Regions from separate parts of the Homo sapiens genome. Here regions 1, 2, 4, 5, 6 and 7 are each linked to region 3. The links are contacts of gene promoters, found by promoter capture Hi-C in blood cells and fetal thymus (Javierre and others, 2016). All regions are on one chromosome and are shown on one strand. The core of a region is centred on a gene start or on the middle of the fragment in contact, and the rest is flanking DNA. Distances in the headings are between cores, read along the strand shown.

Region 1 (2,700 bases), core at 122-2,621, 1.3 Mb before region 3:
CAACTAGTGATGGCTGGCAACTGAAGGGCAATAAGGATAATACCTCAAAATACAGAAGCTATGAATTCCCCTGCCTGGGTTCAAATCATGGTTCTGCAATAATTAGTTATAGGACTTTGGGCATATGAAGGAACCATGCTCAAAATTCTCATCTATAAATTGGGGATAATGACATTACCCTACCTCCTAGAATTGTTAGTGAAGATAAATTAATACATGTAAAAGCACTTGGAACATTATCTGGCATATAGTAATACATATCAGGCATCATCATCATCACCTTAATTTTAAAACTCCTTTTTCATTTGGAAAATTTTAAGTATGCTCTAATAACTCCTCAGGTTATTTATACTTCCTAGATAGGAAAAATTTCAAAGCTTACCTAATTATACTAAAAAGGGTTATCCCACTTTTCCCCTCTAACTTCATTAGTTTACATTTTGTTTTGTTAAAGGAACTCAAAAGTTCTTCTGCTTCATCTTGTATCATCTGAGAAGCAGCAGAAAACTTCAGGGTCCCACATCTGAAAACTGTTCCAATGAAACTCTTCGGAAAAAGTGGTGAAAAAAGTGGCTAATCTGCTAAGCTCTGTGGAAGAATCACTCAACATACGACAATCCCAACTACAGAATTTACTATTATGAAGCATATGCAGAAAATAATTTGGTAAGTTAGGCTAAACGTGCATTTACGGATTTTGAATCTGTCCCTCTGCTCTCCCTGTGGTTTCTCCCTGGTTTATATCGCTATTGCTCTCCTGTCCTCCTGGTAATCTCTCTGACCCCCCTAGCCCCTCTTTTCCTTCTGCTTGCTCCGACTCTATCAGAAACCAAACAAACAAGAGAGTCACGGTCAATAAGTAATTGATGTAAAAAGGCAAAAATGCTACCTGCTTCTATGTAAAGTGTTATATGAAATACCTGAATCCTGGTTTATTCTCACAGGGTACTGACACTGACCTTCTCTTGGGAAAGTCAAATGTGTCATTAGATTTTAGCCTTAAAGTAACATTCTTCTAAATGGCTTACCAAATGATTAAACACACATTTCCCATATACAGAAAAAAGAAACTGGACAGACTAGATTACAGAACAACAATGTGAAAATTAAGAAGGATGGGAATGTGAAAATTAAAATCTTATTGCAACACAGGGACTCCGCCTCCTCCTTCAGCTATTCTGTTCCTCTGTTGACAGGAGTTTGCAGGAACTATATGATTCATAAGCTGAAGAAGATAATCTTAATGCCTGCCCCACACAAGCACCTCAGCCTGTAGGATTTTTTAGTTCAATAAATAATGATTTTTCTTTCCTTAAGTAATTTAAGATGTTTCCACATTCTTAAACATGATTTTTACATTTTAGAATAAAATCACTTTTTATTGGGAACATAATTTTTATAATAGAATGATATAGGCAATAAGATCCAATATTTAGCAATTCTGCTTACAACAAATTTTTTCAAGTTGTATAGATTTTGCATATTGACAGATACATGCTTATACAAGACGTACGACATTGACACAAGGACTCAATGGGCAAGAAAACTGGTATCAGGCAATTCAATTAAGGAAACATAAAGTGAGCTCTTACAATGCATCAGATAGCATCATAATTAGATAAATAGCCTATGTAAAAAGAGAAAATCCATTTTGTGATATTACCCAATTTTAGTTACCTTCTTCATCAGAGACAGAGTTTAAACTTGTAAAGATCAGAACTAAACAACTAGAGCTGCCTAAAGCAGGTAGGTCTGATACAATACCATATGATACAGGAGTTTCCCCACTTACTTTGAAACGCAGGTGGACATACTATAAATGTCTGTTGGAATGGATCTGTCTGAGTGCAAATCTGGGTGGTTCCAGGCTGCAAGGAAACACCCTGCTGGGCAACTCCAGGAACTGGTGCAGCAGATGATGGGTACAAAGCTGACTGGTAGTTTAGTAGTGAGACATCTGAATTAGCCAGAGAAAGAGTAGCAGCTGCTGCAGTAGAACTGGAAGCTAGAACACTGGCCTAAAAACAAAAGGATTATATTTGTACACTTGTATTAAGTAGAGACACACAATAATTTTATATATACAGAATTTATCCAGAAAAACGTAGAATAATGTTTTAAAATGTAATGTTAACTGCCTCTGAAATAACTCTCTGCTTAAGAAACTTCCCTAGTCCCTAAATTGAAGGCATATTATATGGTCAAATAAGCAAATAAAAAAAAAAAAACGAATGGTCCTATGTTGGCTGTGGCTACACAAACCCCAACTACTTCTGCACAAAAAATTACTGGATGGAAGATCCCACCAAATCTCATAGGCTCTTCCATTAAAAAAGTAGACCCAGCCAAGAAACTGGGAAGCTTACATCTTCAGAAATAAACCTAAATGCAAATATCACTGGCTAGCAAACAAATGCAAAACCACCCTTAAAGTTAATGACTGGAAACCTTTCAATACAGTAACAAGAGATATAAAATCCTTCTCCTAACAGGGAGAAAGTCATTTGGCTAAAGTCAGTAAAACTAACAGCAGTAAGTAGCATAATAGTCAGACCCCATTTATTTGACGATGCTGAACATATGAGGGCATGGATTAGGCCTTTATATTTAACTTTAGTTAGCCTGTGCCTGGTAAGTATTATCAGTCTACCCTGTTTTCCATCAACTTTTGTCAAGTGGAGAATTTCTAAGAAGCAACAA
Region 2 (2,700 bases), core at 31-2,530, 1.1 Mb before region 3:
TGAACAAATTGCTTTACCCTCTCTCAACTGCACTTTTCCTGTCTATAAAATGGGGTTGTGGTATTTCATTTATAAGGAACTTGTGTGGATTAAATAGGGCATTGTGTGAAAGTACTTACAGCAGTGCCTGGCTCATTGTAGGCACTTACTTAAAACCGGCCTTTATTATTTTATTATGCATGGTCCCTAAAACAACTCTAAGATTAATAAGGAGAGTGGGCAGATTCTTGTTACTTACAAAGCTATGTCCTTCCTTCGCTTATCCTCAGATTTTTGGAAACTATTTTAACTGTTTTTTTTTTTTAGATAATTAATGATTCACAGGAAATTGCAAACATAGTCAAGTCCTTACCTTTTACCAGTTTCCCTCAGTGGCTACATCTTACATAACTATTGTATAATATCAACACCAGGAAATTGACATTGGTACAATGTATATGTAGTTATATGCTATTTTATCATATGTAGATTAGTGTAACCACCACTACAATCAAGATACAGAACTGTTCCACCACCACAAACCCTTTACAGCCTTAGGCACTCCCTCTGTCTCTCTACTGTCCCTGTCCTCTGGCAGCCACTAACCTGTTTTGTCATTTTGAGACTATTATATAAGTTGAATCATACAGTATGTGATCTTTGGAGATTGCCCTTTTTCACTCAGTGTGATGTCCCTGAGATCCATCCCTCTTTTTCATTGCCGAATAGTGTTCCATGGTATGGATGTACCATGGTTCACCTATTGAATCATTCCCGTATAAGAAAGGACATTTTGATTATTTCTAGTTTTTGGCTATTATAGATAGAGCTTCTATGAAAATTGGTGTTCAGGTTTTTGTGTGCATGTAACTTTTCATTTCTTTGGTCGTATGGTAAATACAATTAGCCCTCTGTATCCATGGGTTCCACATCAATGGATTCAGCCAACCTGGGATTGAAAATATTTTCAAAAAAACATTGTCTGTACTGGACTTGTGCAGACTTTTTTTTTCTTGTCACTGTTCCCTAAACAATACAGTATAACAATTATTTATATAGCATGTACATTGTATTAGGTATAAATAATCTGGAGATGATTTAAAATATAGGGGAGGATGTGCATAGGTTATAAGCAATTATTATGCCATTTTATATGAAGGACTTGATCATCTTGGATTTTGTTGCCCTGGGAGGCTCTGGAACCAATCCTCCATGGATACCAAGGATGACTATATATATTTATTTTGTTTGTTTGTTTTTTAAGATACTGCCAAAGTATTTTCTGGAGTGTCGGTACCATTTTACATTCCTGTCAGCGGTGTAAGAGAAATCCATTTTCTCCACATTCTTGCCAGTATCTGGTATTGTCACTATTTTTATTTTAGCAATTTTAATAGACGTGTGGTGATACATCATCATGATCTTAATTTGCATTTCCCAAATGGCTAGTGATAATACACATCTTTTCATATCATCATTTGCTGTCTATATATCCTGGTCAGTAAAATGTCTCTTTATACCTTTTGCCTATTTTCTAATTGAATTTTGTGTGTGTGTGTGTGTGTGTGTGTGTATACATATACATATATATATATATATAATTTTTTTTTTTGAGACAGAATTTCACTCTTGTTGCCCAGGCTGGAGAGCAATGGTGCAATCTCGGCTCACTGCAACCTCTGCCTCCCGGGTTCAAGCGATTCTCCTGCCTCAGCCTCCCGAATCGCTGGGATTACAGGTGCCTGCCACCACACCCAGCTACTTTTTTATATTTTTAGTAGAGACGGGGTTTCACTGTGTTGGCCAGGCTGTTCTCGAACTCCTGACCTCAGGTGATCCACCCGCCTCAGCCTCCCAAAGTGCTGGGATTTCAGGCGTGAGCCACTGCGCCCGGCCCTTGAATTGTATATTTTTTATTACTGGGTTTTGATAATTTTTTGTAGATCACAGGTGCAGCTTCTTTGTATGGTTTGCACATATTTTCTCCCAATCTGTTGCTTGTCTTTCCATCCTTTTTGTTTGTTTGCTTGTTTTTATTTTGGTTGTTTTTTTTTTTTTTTGAGATGGATTCTCACTTTGTCACCCAGGCTGGAGTGTAGTAGCACGATCCTGGCTCACTGCAACCTCCACCTCTTGGGTTCAGGCGATTCTCCTATGTCAGCCTCCCGAGTAGCTGTGATTACAGGCATCTGCCACCATGCCCGGCTAATTTTTGTGTTTTTCAGTAGAGACGGGGTTTCGCCATATTGGTCAGGCTGGTCTTGAACTCCTGACCTCAGGTGATCCGCCCGCCTTGGTCTCCCAAAGTGCTGGGATTACAGGCATGAGCCACCACGCCCAGCCTGTTTGTTTTTGTTTTTTTGGGGAGGGTCTCACTCAGTTACCCAGGCTGCAGCACAGTGATGTGATCATGGCTCACTCTAGCCTCAACCTCTGGGGCTCAAGTGATCCTCCCACCTCAACCTCCTGAGTAGCTGAGACCACACGTGTGCACCACCACACCTGGCTAATGTTTTTTTTTTTTTTTTTTTTTTTGATAGAGGCAGGGTCTCTCTGTGTTGTCCAGGCTGGTCTCAAACTCCTGGGCTTAAGTGATCCTCCCGCCTTGGCCTACCAAAGTGTTGGGATTACAGACAGGAGCCACTGTGCCTGGTCCTTTCTACCTTCTCAGTGGGATACTTCACAGAGCAAAAATTTTAAATTTTGTTGATATCCAATTTA
Region 3 (2,700 bases), core at 91-2,590:
ATGTGGACCCAGGTCCATGTAATATGGATTCAATAAATGTTAGCTATCTTGAAATTGCATTCCTCATTTAGACTCTAAGTTGTTTGAAGGCAGAAATGGATCTTCCGAACATAGCTCTCAGTTCACCCTCGAGAAATGTTCATTGAGTCAGTTAAGAGGCCTGGGGCCAAACTGCTGCGGACCTGTTTTCACATTTGTCAAATGTCTGGATTGCACTTCAGATATTTAAAGTCTGTATGACTCCTAACATTCATTCATTCATCAAATATTTGTTGACAACCTATTATGTGCCACTCACTCTGCTAGACAACGGGGGAAGGGACAGGCTGGAGGAGCCCGTGAGGTAGCAGGGCCAGACCACCAGTTTGGAGCCAGACAGGCCCGGCTGTGTGAATTCTTGCTGTCACAAGTCAAAAACAGTTGTGTAAGCCACTTGATTTCTCTGAACCTCAGCTTCTCTATGGGCAAAAGGGGATGGGTATATTTTCCCCAGAGATCTGTGATGAATATTGAAAGGGTTAAGCTGTGTAGTGTCCCAAGCACAAGCCAATGAAATGTTGGTGGACGTCCTCATTCTACTCCCACCTCCTCAGCTCCCTTACAGGGAAAGGAGATACGCGTGTAGGTAAATATCCTATGCGCCAAGTCAGACCTAGGAGTGGGAACAGAATTCACAGCTGGGATCCAGAAGCATTTCTAGGCGCACCCTTTGAGGAGTAGGTAGGAATTGGACTCCTGGAAATTCCAGGCCCAGGGAAGAAAGCGAATTGTGAGGAGGAACGGTGGTCTGGGTCTGAACGGCTCTGAGAGGTCTTCAAGTTTGGGGGATGACGTTGGGCTGTACGATCCTAGGAACAAGAGGGTGGACATCTCCCCCCAACCAACACACCCGCGCCGGGCCCTGGGACCTCCCGGCGGATACCCTTTCCCAGTCCCGCTTCCCGCGAGGTCCCAGGTGCAGCAGGAGCGGGTGGCCGCTTGGCCACAGGAGGGCAGCAGCGGCCCTTCCTGACCCCACCCCGAGCACCTCTTAACTTTCCCGACGCCGGTCCTCCCCTAGGGGATTGAAGGCTGGGCAGAGTCTGAGTCCACCCGGGTCGTGCTCCCCCCGCTCGCCCGGCTCCTCCGCAGTCCAGGAATCTCCCCGTGGCTCTCCCCGACCTGGAGGGGTGGACGCCCCTGGCCCCCAGTCCCCGGCCTGCGGAGGGGGCCGGTGGCTGCGGCCCTGCGCGGGGCCGGGGCGGGCCGAGCCAAGGGCCGCCCCCGGCCGACCCTCCCCCTGCCGGGCCCGCCCTCCCCGCCGCGGCGCTGGAGGAGGGCGGGGCGGGGCCCTGGGGTCAGTCTGAGCCTCCGGCACCGGCCGCGCAGCTGGAGGCGGCGGAGCGGAAGGTACCCTGGGCCGGGGCTGCGGGCGGTGGGGCGTCTTGGGAACTCGTCCCCAGGAGAGCACTTTCCCTTCCTCGCTGGCCCGGAGATCGGGGCCCGTGCGAGGAGGGGCTTCGGCCTGGGCGTGGACCCCGTTCCCTCCAAGCGGAGTCGGCATCCGGGCTGGGCGGTGGTCGGACCGCGTCGGCCCCTCCCCGGGCTGCAGCGAGGGGGCCCGGACCTGCCGGCAGGGGCTCTGGCCTCCTGAGGTCCGAGTCGGAGCCCCTTCCCTTCTCCTCCCAGCTTCCCGGAACCTGCCCCGCCGGGCGAGGGGCGAGGGAACTTCAACTCAGACGCCCCAGCCCCCAGGGTGGGCGGCCGCAGGGGACCTAGAGTGGGATGGGGTGGGAATTCCTCCAGGCCAGGAGGGAGGTATGGCGGGAATAGGGGCGGGATGTGACCATTGGGGCCTGCCACTGCTCGGCAGGGTCTGGACGCCGCCCTGGACGGTTCCTGGAGCCCGCTTGTGTTGAGGATAAGGGAGATGGGGAAGGATCCAACTCTGTGTGTGTGTGTGTGTGTGTGTGTGTGTGTGTGTGTGTGTGTGTGTGTGTGTGTGTGTGTGTGTGTGTGTGTGGTGTGTGTGTGTGTGTGTGTGTGTGTGTGTGTGTAGAGAGAGAGAGAGAGAGAGAAAATGAGATTGAGAATCCTCCTTCTTCATACTCGAACCAAGAAAGAGTATCCTGGGGTTTGGGACTGGGATCCCGAGGCCGAGTCCCGCCCTCACTCTGGTTTTAAAGTTGAGAATGCAGTATCTCTTGGTATCTCCAGAACGGATTCCTTCCCTAGGTGTAGGGTGGGCCGGCAAAGTCAACCGGCCGCTCTGGATCATCTGGGAATTCAAGAGAGCGATTGGAGAGAGGTCTGATGTAGCCACACTGTCTTGTCTTGGGGAAGGCCCCAGAAGTTCCAGGCTCCATTCCAGGCCCTGTGTGGGGCTCAGTTGCCCCTCTTAAGGGGTCAGTGGGACAGTCCCTCTGGGGCTGCCTCTCACAGGGAGTTGTCCATGCCATCTTGGCCTTGGGCCTAGTGTCCTGGCCTGGGCTGCCTGCTGTTCTGGCCCAATCATAGCCTGGAGGGAAAGTCTTCTAATTGGGCTGGAGGCTCCAGGTCCCTTAACGCATGCCTCAACCCCGGGTTTCTGTCCTCTGCCTCCCACCACTCTGGTGCCGTCTGAATTACCCTGCTGGGGGGACAGCAGTGGCATACTCATGCCTAAGTGACTGGCTTTCACCCCAGTAGTGATTGCCCTCCATCAACACTGCCCACCCCAGG
Region 4 (2,700 bases), core at 190-2,689, 1.2 Mb before region 3:
GTTGTATGTGTTTTAGAATGGAACAGAAAACACAAGATTGGCTTTGATATTTTGCAAGATAGAAATTCCATTCTGAACAACTGACTTACTGTTTATGCTTGAATCTTTTTTTGTTTTTTTTTTTTTTGGAGACAGAGTCTTGCTCTGTCACCCAGGCTGGAGTGCAGTGGCGTAATATCGACTCATCGCAACCTCCGCCTCCCAGGTTCAAGCGATTCTCATGCCTCAGCCTCCTTAGTAGCTGGGATTACAGGCATGCACCACCACGCCCAGTTCATTTTTGTATTTTTTAGTAGAGATGGGTTTTGCCATGTTGGCCAGGCTGGTCGTGAACTCCTGACCTCCGGTTATCTGCCCGCCTCAGCCTCCCAAAAGTGCTGGGATTACAGGTATGAGCCACCATGCCCGGCCTATGCTTGACTCTTTTATTAGTTGGAGCTGTTAATATTAATAACTTCACCAGGTCAGACAGGTTGAGTGGTAAGTTTGCTGATAGGTTTGATGGCTGCTTCTGAGACCCAGACCCAAAATCTAGGTTTAGCTACGTTAAGAAGGCAACCACTACAGATAAGTGTCCAATCATGAGATCTCTTAAAACAATGATGGAGTCCAACCCTGTTAGGAAAATCCTTTTGCTAGACAGAGAATCTCAGATCTCTTTCCTCCTGGTCATTATGTCTTGGGCTAAAAGGAGGACATTTAACATTTATTGTATGCCAAACAGTGCTAGGCCATTCCGCATGTTATCTTATTTAATCCTCATAATTTATCTATGAAATATTTTCTGTTGTCCCCATTTATAATTCCAAGTTGTTTTTTTTTAACCTTCCCAGACTTTATATCTGCTACCTCTCCGCCTAGAATAGTGTTATGCCTCCTTTTTGCATAATGAATGCCTACTTATTCCTCAGAGCTCATGTCAGATGGTACTATTTTAAGGAAGCCTTCCCAGTCCCCTAGGTTTGTTTCCCTATTAAACTGATCAAAGGCTTGATTCCCTGTTACACTTCACTGATCAAAGTGCACTGATCTCAATAGCACAAATAACAATGCGATTACTCATTTAATATCTGTCATTTCTGCTGAAGTGTAAGCTTCATGAGCACAGTAACTGTGCCTGTATCATTTTTCTATGTTACTTGTAGTGCCAACTATAGTTCCTTGTTCAGTAAGTAATTATTATATGATTATGGCAAATAAATTCCATAAACAGAAGTTGAACGCTGGTCCACTGTAACTTCAAAACCTTCCTTCAAATTATACCATGTGCAGGACCTAAGAAGTCGAGGAAGTATTTCTTAATAAAATTACTCCAGAGGCTCTTCCTGAACTCTATTTCAGTTCTAGGTTGGCTACCTAACGATAAAAGTTAAGCATTAATTTTATGTGGTTAGGGTGTGGTCTGAGATAGAGAACCTAAAGTCTTTAAAGTCTCCCCAGTTCCAAGTAGGTAATCCTTCTGAGAAGTCCCACCTTTCTGAGCAGCTGTGTTTGAAGAAAGCTAGTGGGAAAAGTTCCAGGATTACATGTCAGGAAACTACAAGAGGTAGAAACATTTGTTGATTTACCAGTGTTTTTAACTTCCTGCTGGGCTGAAAACTGCTTGTTTCGTGGAAAAGCAAAACTTGACAGCAAACATCTAAAATGAAGAGCTCCCAAACTTTTGAGGAACAAACGGAATGCATTGTGAACACTCTACTCATGGACTTCTTGAGCCCAACATTGCAGGTTGCCAGCCGGAACCTATGCTGTGTAGATGAAGTAGATTCAGGTAAGGTTCCTGCCCTAGGCGGTGATTGCAGGTCAATAAGAGTATGTTTTCAGCCGGGCGCAGTGACTGATTCCCGTAATCCCAGCACTTTGGGAGGCCAAGGTGGGTGGATCACCTGAAGTCAGGGGTTTGAGATCCGCCTGGCCAACGTGGTGAAACCCCATCTCTACTAAAAGTAGAAAAATTAGCCAGGTGTGGTGGCTCATGCCTGCAGTCCCAGCTACATGGGAGACTGAGGCATGAGAATTGCTTGAACCTGGGAGGCGGAGGTTGCAGTGAGCTGAGATCACGCCACTGCACTCCAGTCTGGGCGACAGAGACTCGGTCTCAAAAAAAAAAAAACAGTATATTTTATTTATTTCCTTTAAGTTTCAAAAGGCAAACTCTAAGCTTTCAGTAACACCTAAAGCGAAAGAGGTTCTCAATGAAGGGAAACTTTCTGACTATTGGTGTTGACAGAACATTTAAGCTCTTGGGAGATCATGATATGAAAATTATTTAAAAGACAAGACAAATTTTTCTCATTGCCCAGATTCCTGGGACTTGCCATTGCTTCAAGCATTGTAACAAATGTGTTCCCTCTGTCATAGGAGAGCCTTGTTCTTTTGATGTGGCTATCATTGCTGGTCGCCTTCGGATGTTGGGTGACCAGTTCAACGGAGAATTGGAAGCTTCTGCCAAAAACGTCATTGCAGAAACCATTAAGGGACAGGTCAAGTTTCTACTTCATGCTATTGTTTGCTGCTTTTTTTTCTATTTCAAACTTCCTTTTCTTACTACTCCCATACTACAGTGACTAGGAATGTTCTATGAAAATATTTGGGTGCTTATATTTCAAGGAAGTATAGCAAGAATTCTCCAATTGCTAAAACCTAAGTGGTACAGAGATGGAAAATTTTGGGCATAGGCTGATGAACCTTCAGTTTGTC
Region 5 (2,700 bases), core at 147-2,646, 1.6 Mb before region 3:
GTCGCTCATTGGCTTTCAGAGTATTGTAGCTTATTCGTGCCACTTGAGAGGATGGGCAAATTGGATTATTTAGTCTTAACTAAACAAATCCTCACAAAACAGAGTGGCTTAAGAAGAGCTCTACAAAGAAAGGAGTGTGATGATAACACCCACAATGCAAATGCAAATAAACAACAAGAAAATGGCACTGTCCCTAATTCAAAAGAAGCTCATTGTCAGACATATCATGAGGTTAGAAACCATAACAATCTAATCAGATCAGACAAGATGTTGACAAAAACAAGTTTAGAAGTTATCAAGGGGACAGTGCCTTTACTTCCATTGGCATTTGTGATAAACCTCATCCTAAGTGTATATGAAGCCTTGAGACATTGGCTAATAATAGAAATGCATCAATATAATAAGATAATAATATAGATAAGTAAATACACTATATTGGAGTGTATGTTCAACATTTTTGCTGCTACGGTTATATGATTTTTTAAAAAATTGAAGGCCTCTGTTTTAGGGACCTAGCACTGCTTTAACAAGTCTCGGACCTTTAAGTTAATATTCACTGTCATTTGGGCAGAACTGAGGTAGCAGGTGGGACTAGACTCTGGAGGTGGGGCTCAGACACAGGACCAAATTGAGGACTACCTAAAACAGGTGCAGTGTGGAAGCACTTCTCCATAAGACATGAAAACCAGTATGCCATGTCAGCTTACCATTGCCATGGCAACACCTGAAAGTTATCACCCCTTGCTGTGGTGACAACTCCACAGAGGCTACTACCCTCATCCTAGAAATTTCTGCATAAACTGCCTCTTACTTTGCATATAATTGAAAGTGGGTACGAAAATGATGGCAGAACTGCCTCTGAGCTGCTACTCTGGACACACTGCCTGTGGGGTAGTCCTGCTTCGCTGCTGCTGCTATACACTGCTGCTTCAATAAAAGCTGCTGTTTAACACCACCAGCTCACCTTTGAATTCTTTCCTGGATGGGGCCAAAAACCTTGGGCTAAGCCCCAATTTTGGGGCTTGCCTGTCCTGCATCAGAACCAGGTGGCTAGTGTGTATAGACCTAAGATCAAGGGCTTGTTGCTTATTCACTTACAAGCTGCATTTCTTAAACAACACTATCAGAATGCTGATGTTCTCTGAAAAGCTGTCCTGTGTGCTGTGAGCCTTTGCAAAAATAAATCATATTTTATAACAAATAACCATTTTATACTGTACAATAGTGGAAAATACTGAAATGTAGTTTTATAAAATCTTTTCTTCATGTTGTGAAATTTAACTTATAAAGTTTCCTGTCGCCCATATGTATTATTTTTGTTTGTGTCTTTTCTTAATCTGACAATGATTTTTCTTTTGGTGGAAGAAAATCTGCATAGCTACTCCACATGTAACAGTGTTGCTTGGTGAGTCATGGTCGCAGAAAGTTTAAGAAATGTTCCTTTAGAGCATGTGAATAAATCTTGCCTCAATCAAATTCTTTTTCCTGCAGCCTCCCCTGCTGGGCTCCCTTCCTTGGCCTCTGAGCCTGCTGCTTGCCTTGACCCCAAGTTCAGAGGCTCCCAATGACCTGGCCCTTTGCTGTCTTTGTAAGGCCAAACCTAGGGATGAGCCTCTTCCTCACAGGTTAGGGGCTTTCACCACCACCTCTGGGTCTCAGAAGGTGAGGAGTGAGAACAGACCTCTGAGAATGGGCACCCCTGGGACCTTGTGAACAGGTGCTGCTTAGTTCCTAGAGGAATTCAGAGGGAGAACTGCATGGCTGGCTACCAGCTCCTTGCCTCAAGATGCATCTTTCCAGGGTGGTGGGTAGTTCAGTGGCGAGTCGCTCAAACCGGGCTCTGCTGTTTGGACACGTTACTTAGCTTCATTGTATGTCCGTTTTCTCATTTGTAAAATGAGGATAATAATAATGCCCACTTCTTGGACTTCTTGAAAATGAAATGAGAATCCTATAGTCTAATGCACTTGGCCTGATACATAGTAAGTTGTCAAAAAATGTGAGCTACTGTTATTATCAAGCATTATTTACTTATATTCAGTCCCCAGCTGAATAATGGGAGAGAACTTCATGGCTAATGTAAAATTGGACTTTGACCACACCTACTTAGAGGGTTGGCACTTCTCCCTCCAGAAAATAACGGGACCTCATACAATTTATTCTAAGTAGAACAACTTAAATATAGTTTATAGAAATGGGATTTGGGAGCAGACAGATTTGGACTCGAACACCAGCTCTGTCACATGTTGCCGTGATCTTGGGCAAGTCACTTAGCTGTTGTGGGCCTCATCTGTGCAGTGGGTATTTGCACAGTAATACCGAGTTGTGAGAACATGATGTAAGCACAGGATTCAGGAGAGTGCCTGGCACTTAGTGGGATCTCAATATCTTGTCCCTCTCCCCTTTTCTTAATAGCCATAATAGACATTGATAGAAGAATTAACATTTGCTTAATGCCTACTGTGTGCCATGCACTAGTTAGGATTTTATAATCTTACATAATCTCCTGTATTCATTAAAATGATGTAAAGTATATATCAATAACACAATTTTGTGGATGAAAGAACTAAGTTCAGAAAATTTAAGACCTTTTTCAAAGTCAATAACTTGACTGCAAAAGTCCATGCTATTCCTCCTTCCCACTGGCTGCACCATCTCAGATCTCTGGACCAGCAAACACTATACACTATTCTCCTCTAA
Region 6 (2,700 bases), core at 179-2,678, 1.1 Mb before region 3:
TCTGAGGTGGGTCAGTTTCATCCAGAACCATGCCTGCCAACCCCCTGCCCTTTTCCGTGGAAAAATTGTCTTCCACAAAACCAGTCCCTCATGCCAAAAAGATTGGGGACCACTGGACTACAGTATTCAGTACAATAACATGCTGTAAGTTTTGTAGCCTAGGAGCAATAGGCTATGTCATATAGCCTAGGTGTGTAGTAGGCTATACCACTTAGATTTGTGTAAGTACAAGCTGTGATGTTCTCAACCACAAATTGCCTAATGACATTTCTCAGAATGTATTTCTGTCATTAGGTGACACATGACTGTACAATAAACTTGTGGTAAATGAATGACACCTGCTTTCCTGTAACTCATGTTACAGGCCTCCAAGTATTTGAAGACTGTTGTGTCCCTCCTTTAATCTTTTCAAGTTAAATACTTTTGAAATACTTTTGATTTCTTGCATTCTTCCTCCATTTTGTATGGTTTGCAAGTCCCTAATCACTTTAAATGTTCTATTTTGGGTGTGCCCTAGTTATAGATATTTTTTAGGCCAGATCGGGAGATCACACCCCAGATGATATCTCTGTGCAATGCAGAATATTGCCTCCCTCATTACAAAGTATACAAGGTATAGGCTAAAAAACCATAACAATGAGGACCAATGTGCAGTGGCTAGAACAAAAGTTTGTCTCTTGTTTAGCAGTCCCGAGGTAAGCAACTCTGTTCCTTGTTGTCATCCAGGATGCTAGTTTCCTTCTGTCTTTAATTTTTGTCGTTCCTACTGGTGTTGTCATGTGCATGATTGAGACTAGCTCTTTACCACTCTGTGTTGCAGCCCTCAAAAGAGAAAAAGGAAGTGGAGGGCAAGCCACTTCCTTATAAAGGTATGCCCTGAAGATTGCATATGTAACTTATGTGACTGTCTCATTGGCCCAAACTTAGGCACAGGCCGCATTTAGCTGTCAGGGAGCCTAGCTTATTGGCCATATGCCCAGGAAATTTTCTTACTAAAAAGAAGGAATACTTTGCTTGTTTGGCATTAGTTTCCTACAGTTGGTGAATGTTTTTTTGTTTTATCTATTTTTTTCTCTCTTTTTTTTTTTCTTGTCAGCCTTTTCAGGTTGAAAGTTGGTGCATGTTGAATTTGTGGTCATAACTGCTGTTCATTGTTATGCTGTTAATTATTTAAATGTATCACAAACATTTGCATTTATTAAATTTTTAAATGCAAGTGATAGACTGGTAATCAGCAGTTCTTCTTCTCCCCCTCCACCCCTTTTTTTTCTTTTTGCCAGAGTTTGTGGTTGATTACTTCATTTCTAGCCTTAACATACAGAAATTCAACAAATATTTATGACTACATACCAGGCACTTTGTATTACAGATATATAATATTGAATAATACAGATTGTTCTCTTTCACAAAGTTTGTATTCAAACATATTGCTTGATTTCTTTTGTGAGTGGTTTAAATTGGGGGTTGGCAAACTTTTTCTATTAAGGACCAGATAGTATTTTCTGCCCTGTGGCCTAAAATTTATGTAAATAATTCAAACAACCCAATAACAACAACAACGAAATAATCTGATTTAAAAGTGGGCAAAAGACCTAAATAGACATTCTGAAATTTGAAGACATACAACAGGTATATGAAAAAATGTTCAACATAATTCATCATCAGGGAAATGGAAGTCAGAACTACAATTAGATATCACCTCACCCCAGTTCTGGCTGTTAACAAAAAGACAAAAAATAAATGCTGGTGAGGATATGGAAAAAGGAGAACTTTTATACAGTTAATGTCAATCTAAATTAGTACAGACATTATGGTCAACAGTGTGGATGTTCCTTAAAAAATTAAAAATAGAACGACCACATGACCAAGCAATTCCACTTCTTGGTATATGTCCAACTCAAGGAAATTTAATCAGTATGTTGAAGATCTGCATTTCCATGTTTATTGCAGCACTATTCATAACAGCCAGTTTGTTTTTCTTAAAAAATAGTTGTCCTTGACCATTTTTGAAACGTTATTCTTACATCATTTTAATTGCATTACTTCTTAACTCATCCTTTCACAATTTCTTTAGCTAACTCTTCCTCCTGTCTGTCAAATATCTGTTTTCCTTTAAGTGCAGTTCTTGGTTCTGTCTCTTTCTATTCTTTCTCTCAAGTCTTAGTCACTTAAAAAATTATATGTTATAGACAATTTCCAAATCTATGCATCTATTCCTTACCTTTTTTGATCTAGTTATAACTCCAAATCTAACTTACCTAAAATCTGTAAATGTTATGTACTTTCGTTCTTTGAGCTTGAAACCTTATTTTGAGTCATTTTATACCATCAAGGAAATATAGGAGTTGTAAAGGTGGACAATAACATGTGAAAACTTGTGGAGGCAGCAGAAATTATTTAGAATTTGCGAAATGTATATTTAGAATGTGGCAAATGTGGAGAATGTGGCAAATCTTGGTCTGTTATTCCCTTGGAATAATAGATCAGGAGGGGCTTTGTCTTCCTTAAAAAGGATTTTCTAGTTTGATGCTACAGGTAATATGGAGCTACTAAAGGATTTAAAATGGGAAGGTTGAATGATAAGATGTTTTTTCCTAGATTATTTGTAGCAGTATGTAGGATGGCTCTTGGGGATAGGAATCCTGAAGCAAGGATACTGGTTAAGAGGTTTTACAATTAGGTGAGAAATGATAATTTCCT
Region 7 (2,700 bases), core at 92-2,591, 1.8 Mb before region 3:
GACAGAACGAGGAGGTCTCAAAAAAAAAAAAAGTTTTCACGTGGTTTAAGGACTTACAGCACCTTTCTTGGGAACACTAACAGGAGACCAAAGCATTTCATGATCTTAACACTAAAACAGTTGTTGCACTACATAAAATCCTCCAAATACCTTTTTTTTTTTTTCAAATAAAAAGGCAACTTTCTGAAAGCTTTTCTTTTTTTTTTGAGACGGAGTTTCGCTCTGTCGCCCAGGCTGGAGTGTAGTGGCGCTATCTCGGCTCACTGCAGCCTCCGCCTCCTGCCGGGTTCAAGCCATTCTCCTGCCTCAGCCTCCTGAGTAGCTCGGATTACAGGCGCACGCCATTACACCCGGCTAATTTTTATATTTTTAGTAGAGACGGGGTTTCACCATATTGGCCAGGCTGCCCACGAACTCCTGACCTGACCTCAAGTGATCTGCCCGCCTCGGCCTCCCAAAGTGCTGGGATTACAGGCGTGAGCCACTGCGCTTGGCCTGAAAGCTTCTACTACCATTGTTGTAAGGGCATTTGTCACCCAGCTCAACCCAGGACACTTAAAGTGGGACCTCAGAAGGACGCAGTATTGGTTATATCCGTGGCTCTCCAAACTGACATACATAAGAATCAGCTGAAGGGACTTTTCCCCCTCCGTCGGCTCTCTCCCTCACTTCCTGATTCAGGTCTGGGGACTGGCCCTGGCATCTCTGCTTTGAAAAACTCCTCCGTTGATTCTGATACGTAGCAACTCCTGAGAATCACCTTAAGATGCCAAAAATAGCTGTTAAAGAGTTTCTTCCTCACTCGGTCTTTTCAGCCTATTTCTGATAGATCCTCAGTTCAAAAACAAAAAGCAAAAAAAAAACAAAAAAAAAAACCAAAACCAAACAAACAATAAGCCCCGCTTTAGTGCTCCACGGCCACCCAAAGGAACGCGGCTGGTCTACGCACAGCAGAGACCCAGGAGGTCCCGGCGATCGAGCGGCGCGGCAGGTGAAACTTCCGCGGAGACGCCCGGGACACGCTCGCAGGGACCGGAACCGTCCCGGCTACCACCCTTCCGTATGCACCACCGCTGTGTCGGAGTTCATAACCAACCCCAGCCAAAGGCTACCCAGCGTCAACGGCCTCTGGCTTTAAAAAAAAAATCTCCCTTCGGGTTAAAGAGCCGCGGCACTGACGCAAGGAACTGGCTTCGAGGGTCCGGGACCGCTCCGCGCCCGCGAACCGAGTTCCCGCCTCCCTCGGGAGGACGTCCGTGCGTACGTGCGCGTGCCGCAACCGCCCTCCTTCAAACGCGCGACGCGAGGGCGGGGGCGCCGCGTGCGCGCGCGCTCTCGTTGGTTCGCTCTCTCGCTAGCTCTCGGCTGCCGCTCTTGCTGCGGCTGCGGCTGGGGCTGGGGGCGGCGGCGGCGGCGACGCGGGCGGCGGGCGGCGCGGGGCGGTCCGGCGGGTTCAAAGAGGAAAACATGGCGGAAAACAAAGGCGGCGGCGAGGCTGAGAGCGGCGGCGGGGGCAGCGGCAGCGCGCCGGTAACTGCCGGGGCCGCCGGGCCCGCCGCGCAGGAGGCGGAGCCGCCTCTCACCGCGGTGCTGGTGGAGGAGGAGGAGGAGGAAGGCGGCAGGGCCGGCGCTGAGGGCGGCGCGGCCGGGCCCGACGACGGGGGGGTGGCCGCGGCCTCCTCGGGCTCGGCCCAGGCTGCTTCATCTCCTGCGGCCTCAGTGGGCACTGGAGTTGCCGGGGGCGCAGTATCGACGCCGGCTCCAGCTCCAGCCTCGGCTCCCGCTCCGGGTCCCTCGGCAGGGCCGCCTCCTGGACCGCCAGCCTCGCTCCTGGACACCTGCGCCGTGTGTCAGCAGAGCTTGCAGAGCCGGCGTGAGGCGGAGCCCAAGCTGCTGCCCTGTCTTCACTCCTTCTGCCTGCGCTGCCTGCCCGAGCCGGAGCGCCAGCTCAGCGTGCCCATCCCGGGGGGCAGCAACGGCGACATCCAGCAAGGTGAGCCGGAGGCCCTGCCTGGCATCTGGGCCGCAAGGGATTTGCGCAACCCTAGAGGAGCTGGGGACGGAGGTGCTGGGGCCTGGGGCTGCTCGGACGGGCGCCATCCCGAGGGGTCTCTAAGGTGAAAGACTCGCCCCTGGGACACTTTCCAGAGAAGCTGGACCGCAAGAGATAAGGGGAGCATGAAGGGAGGGGTGCCGGCTGCGAGAGGCTGGGGGAGGGGACACTGGCTCCGAGGGAGGGTTTGTGATGTGCGGAACCCGGCCGAGCGCTGGTTCTGGAGCTGGCAGACCCGTACAGTGAGAGAAGGGGGATTTGGGAAACACGTTGTGAGGAAGCGTTTTGGCTGAAAGGGCCCGGGCCAGCGAGGTGTTGAGGGAGTAGGTAAGAGGTAAGGGCAGTGAAGATGGATTGCTTTGGAGGGAGGGGACTTGGCGTGTTCACAGATAGGAGAGAGGAGGACTATGGATTAAATGGAGGTGGAGAGAATATGTTGGAGAGCAAGGGGTCCAGAGAAGGCGCCTGGAAGAAAATTGTAAGATGACATGGGGAAAGAGAAACTCGGAAAGTGGACTGCATGGTTAGGGAAAATCCTAAGGTTTGGGGATGAAGGAGAAATGAACTTTGAAGGAAATTGAGAGTTAGGGAAAGCTGGGCATGAATTTGTTTTAGCTAATTGGCCGTTAATGAGCCCCTAGTGTTGG

The links. Contacts are between HindIII fragments. The CHiCAGO score rates a contact against its expected background, and 5 or more counts as called.
Region 1: a contact is called between a fragment that was not itself captured here and the fragment with the promoter of RHOC in region 3, in 1 of 17 cell types (naive CD4 T cells). The highest score is 6.8, in naive CD4 T cells.
Region 2: a fragment that was not itself captured here is called in contact with the fragment with the promoter of RHOC in region 3 in 2 of 17 cell types (total B cells and total CD8 T cells); the score reaches 8.7 in total B cells.
Region 4: a contact is called between the fragment with the promoter of BCL2L15 here and the fragment with the promoter of RHOC in region 3, in 1 of 17 cell types (activated CD4 T cells). The highest score is 5.1, in activated CD4 T cells.
Region 5: a fragment that was not itself captured here is called in contact with the fragment with the promoter of RHOC in region 3 in 1 of 17 cell types (neutrophils); the score reaches 5.2 in neutrophils.
Region 6: a contact is called between a fragment that was not itself captured here and the fragment with the promoter of RHOC in region 3, in 6 of 17 cell types (total CD8 T cells, naive CD8 T cells, total CD4 T cells and 3 more). The highest score is 7.4, in total CD8 T cells.
Region 7: a contact is called between the fragment with the promoter of TRIM33 here and the fragment with the promoter of RHOC in region 3, in 5 of 17 cell types (total CD4 T cells, fetal thymus, non-activated CD4 T cells and 2 more). The highest score is 6.8, in total CD4 T cells.

Annotation. Positions count from the first base shown.
Region 1 is chr1:113,957,384-113,960,083 of GRCh38, reverse strand. It overlaps HIPK1 (homeodomain interacting protein kinase 1), which reads right to left. Exons shown (of 16, transcript NM_198268.3): 8 at 1,793-2,018. Among named protein-coding and RNA genes, the nearest start is that of OLFML3, 21 kb to the left of the region's middle. The HindIII fragment of the contact is 1,984 bases long and covers 380-2,363 here.
Region 2 is chr1:113,806,653-113,809,352 of GRCh38, reverse strand. The region is part of intron 1 of RSBN1 (round spermatid basic protein 1); the gene reads left to right. Among named protein-coding and RNA genes, the nearest start is that of RSBN1, 4.5 kb to the left of the region's middle. The HindIII fragment of the contact is 4,202 bases long and covers 1-2,700 here.
Region 3 is chr1:112,705,767-112,708,466 of GRCh38, reverse strand. It overlaps RHOC (ras homolog family member C), which reads left to right and starts at 1,340. Exons shown (of 6, transcript NM_175744.5): 1 at 1,340-1,389. RefSeq lists a silencer at 901-1,620. The HindIII fragment of the contact is 12,151 bases long and covers 1-2,700 here.
Region 4 is chr1:113,886,320-113,889,019 of GRCh38, reverse strand. It overlaps BCL2L15 (BCL2 like 15), which reads left to right and starts at 1,439. Exons shown (of 4, transcript NM_001010922.3): 1 at 1,439-1,771; 2 at 2,362-2,483. The coding sequence starts at 1,645. All of the region lies in intron 3 of AP4B1-AS1 (AP4B1 antisense RNA 1), which reads right to left. The HindIII fragment of the contact is 1,067 bases long and covers 1,097-2,163 here.
Region 5 is chr1:114,285,179-114,287,878 of GRCh38, reverse strand. No RefSeq gene overlaps it. Among named protein-coding and RNA genes, the nearest start is that of SYT6, 130 kb to the right of the region's middle. The HindIII fragment of the contact is 3,020 bases long and covers 1-2,700 here.
Region 6 is chr1:113,781,846-113,784,545 of GRCh38, reverse strand. The region is part of intron 2 of RSBN1 (round spermatid basic protein 1); the gene reads left to right. Among named protein-coding and RNA genes, the nearest start is that of PHTF1, 24 kb to the right of the region's middle. The HindIII fragment of the contact is 4,937 bases long and covers 1-2,700 here.
Region 7 is chr1:114,509,844-114,512,543 of GRCh38, reverse strand. It overlaps TRIM33 (tripartite motif containing 33), which reads left to right and starts at 1,341. Exons shown (of 20, transcript NM_015906.4): 1 at 1,341-1,993. The coding sequence starts at 1,468. LOC124904348 (a long non-coding RNA gene) reads right to left here and starts at 1,206. Exons shown (of 2, transcript XR_007066452.1): 1 at 619-1,206. RefSeq lists enhancers at 1-144, 1,005-1,174 and silencers at 1,365-1,474, 1,505-1,804. The HindIII fragment of the contact is 2,747 bases long and covers 505-2,700 here.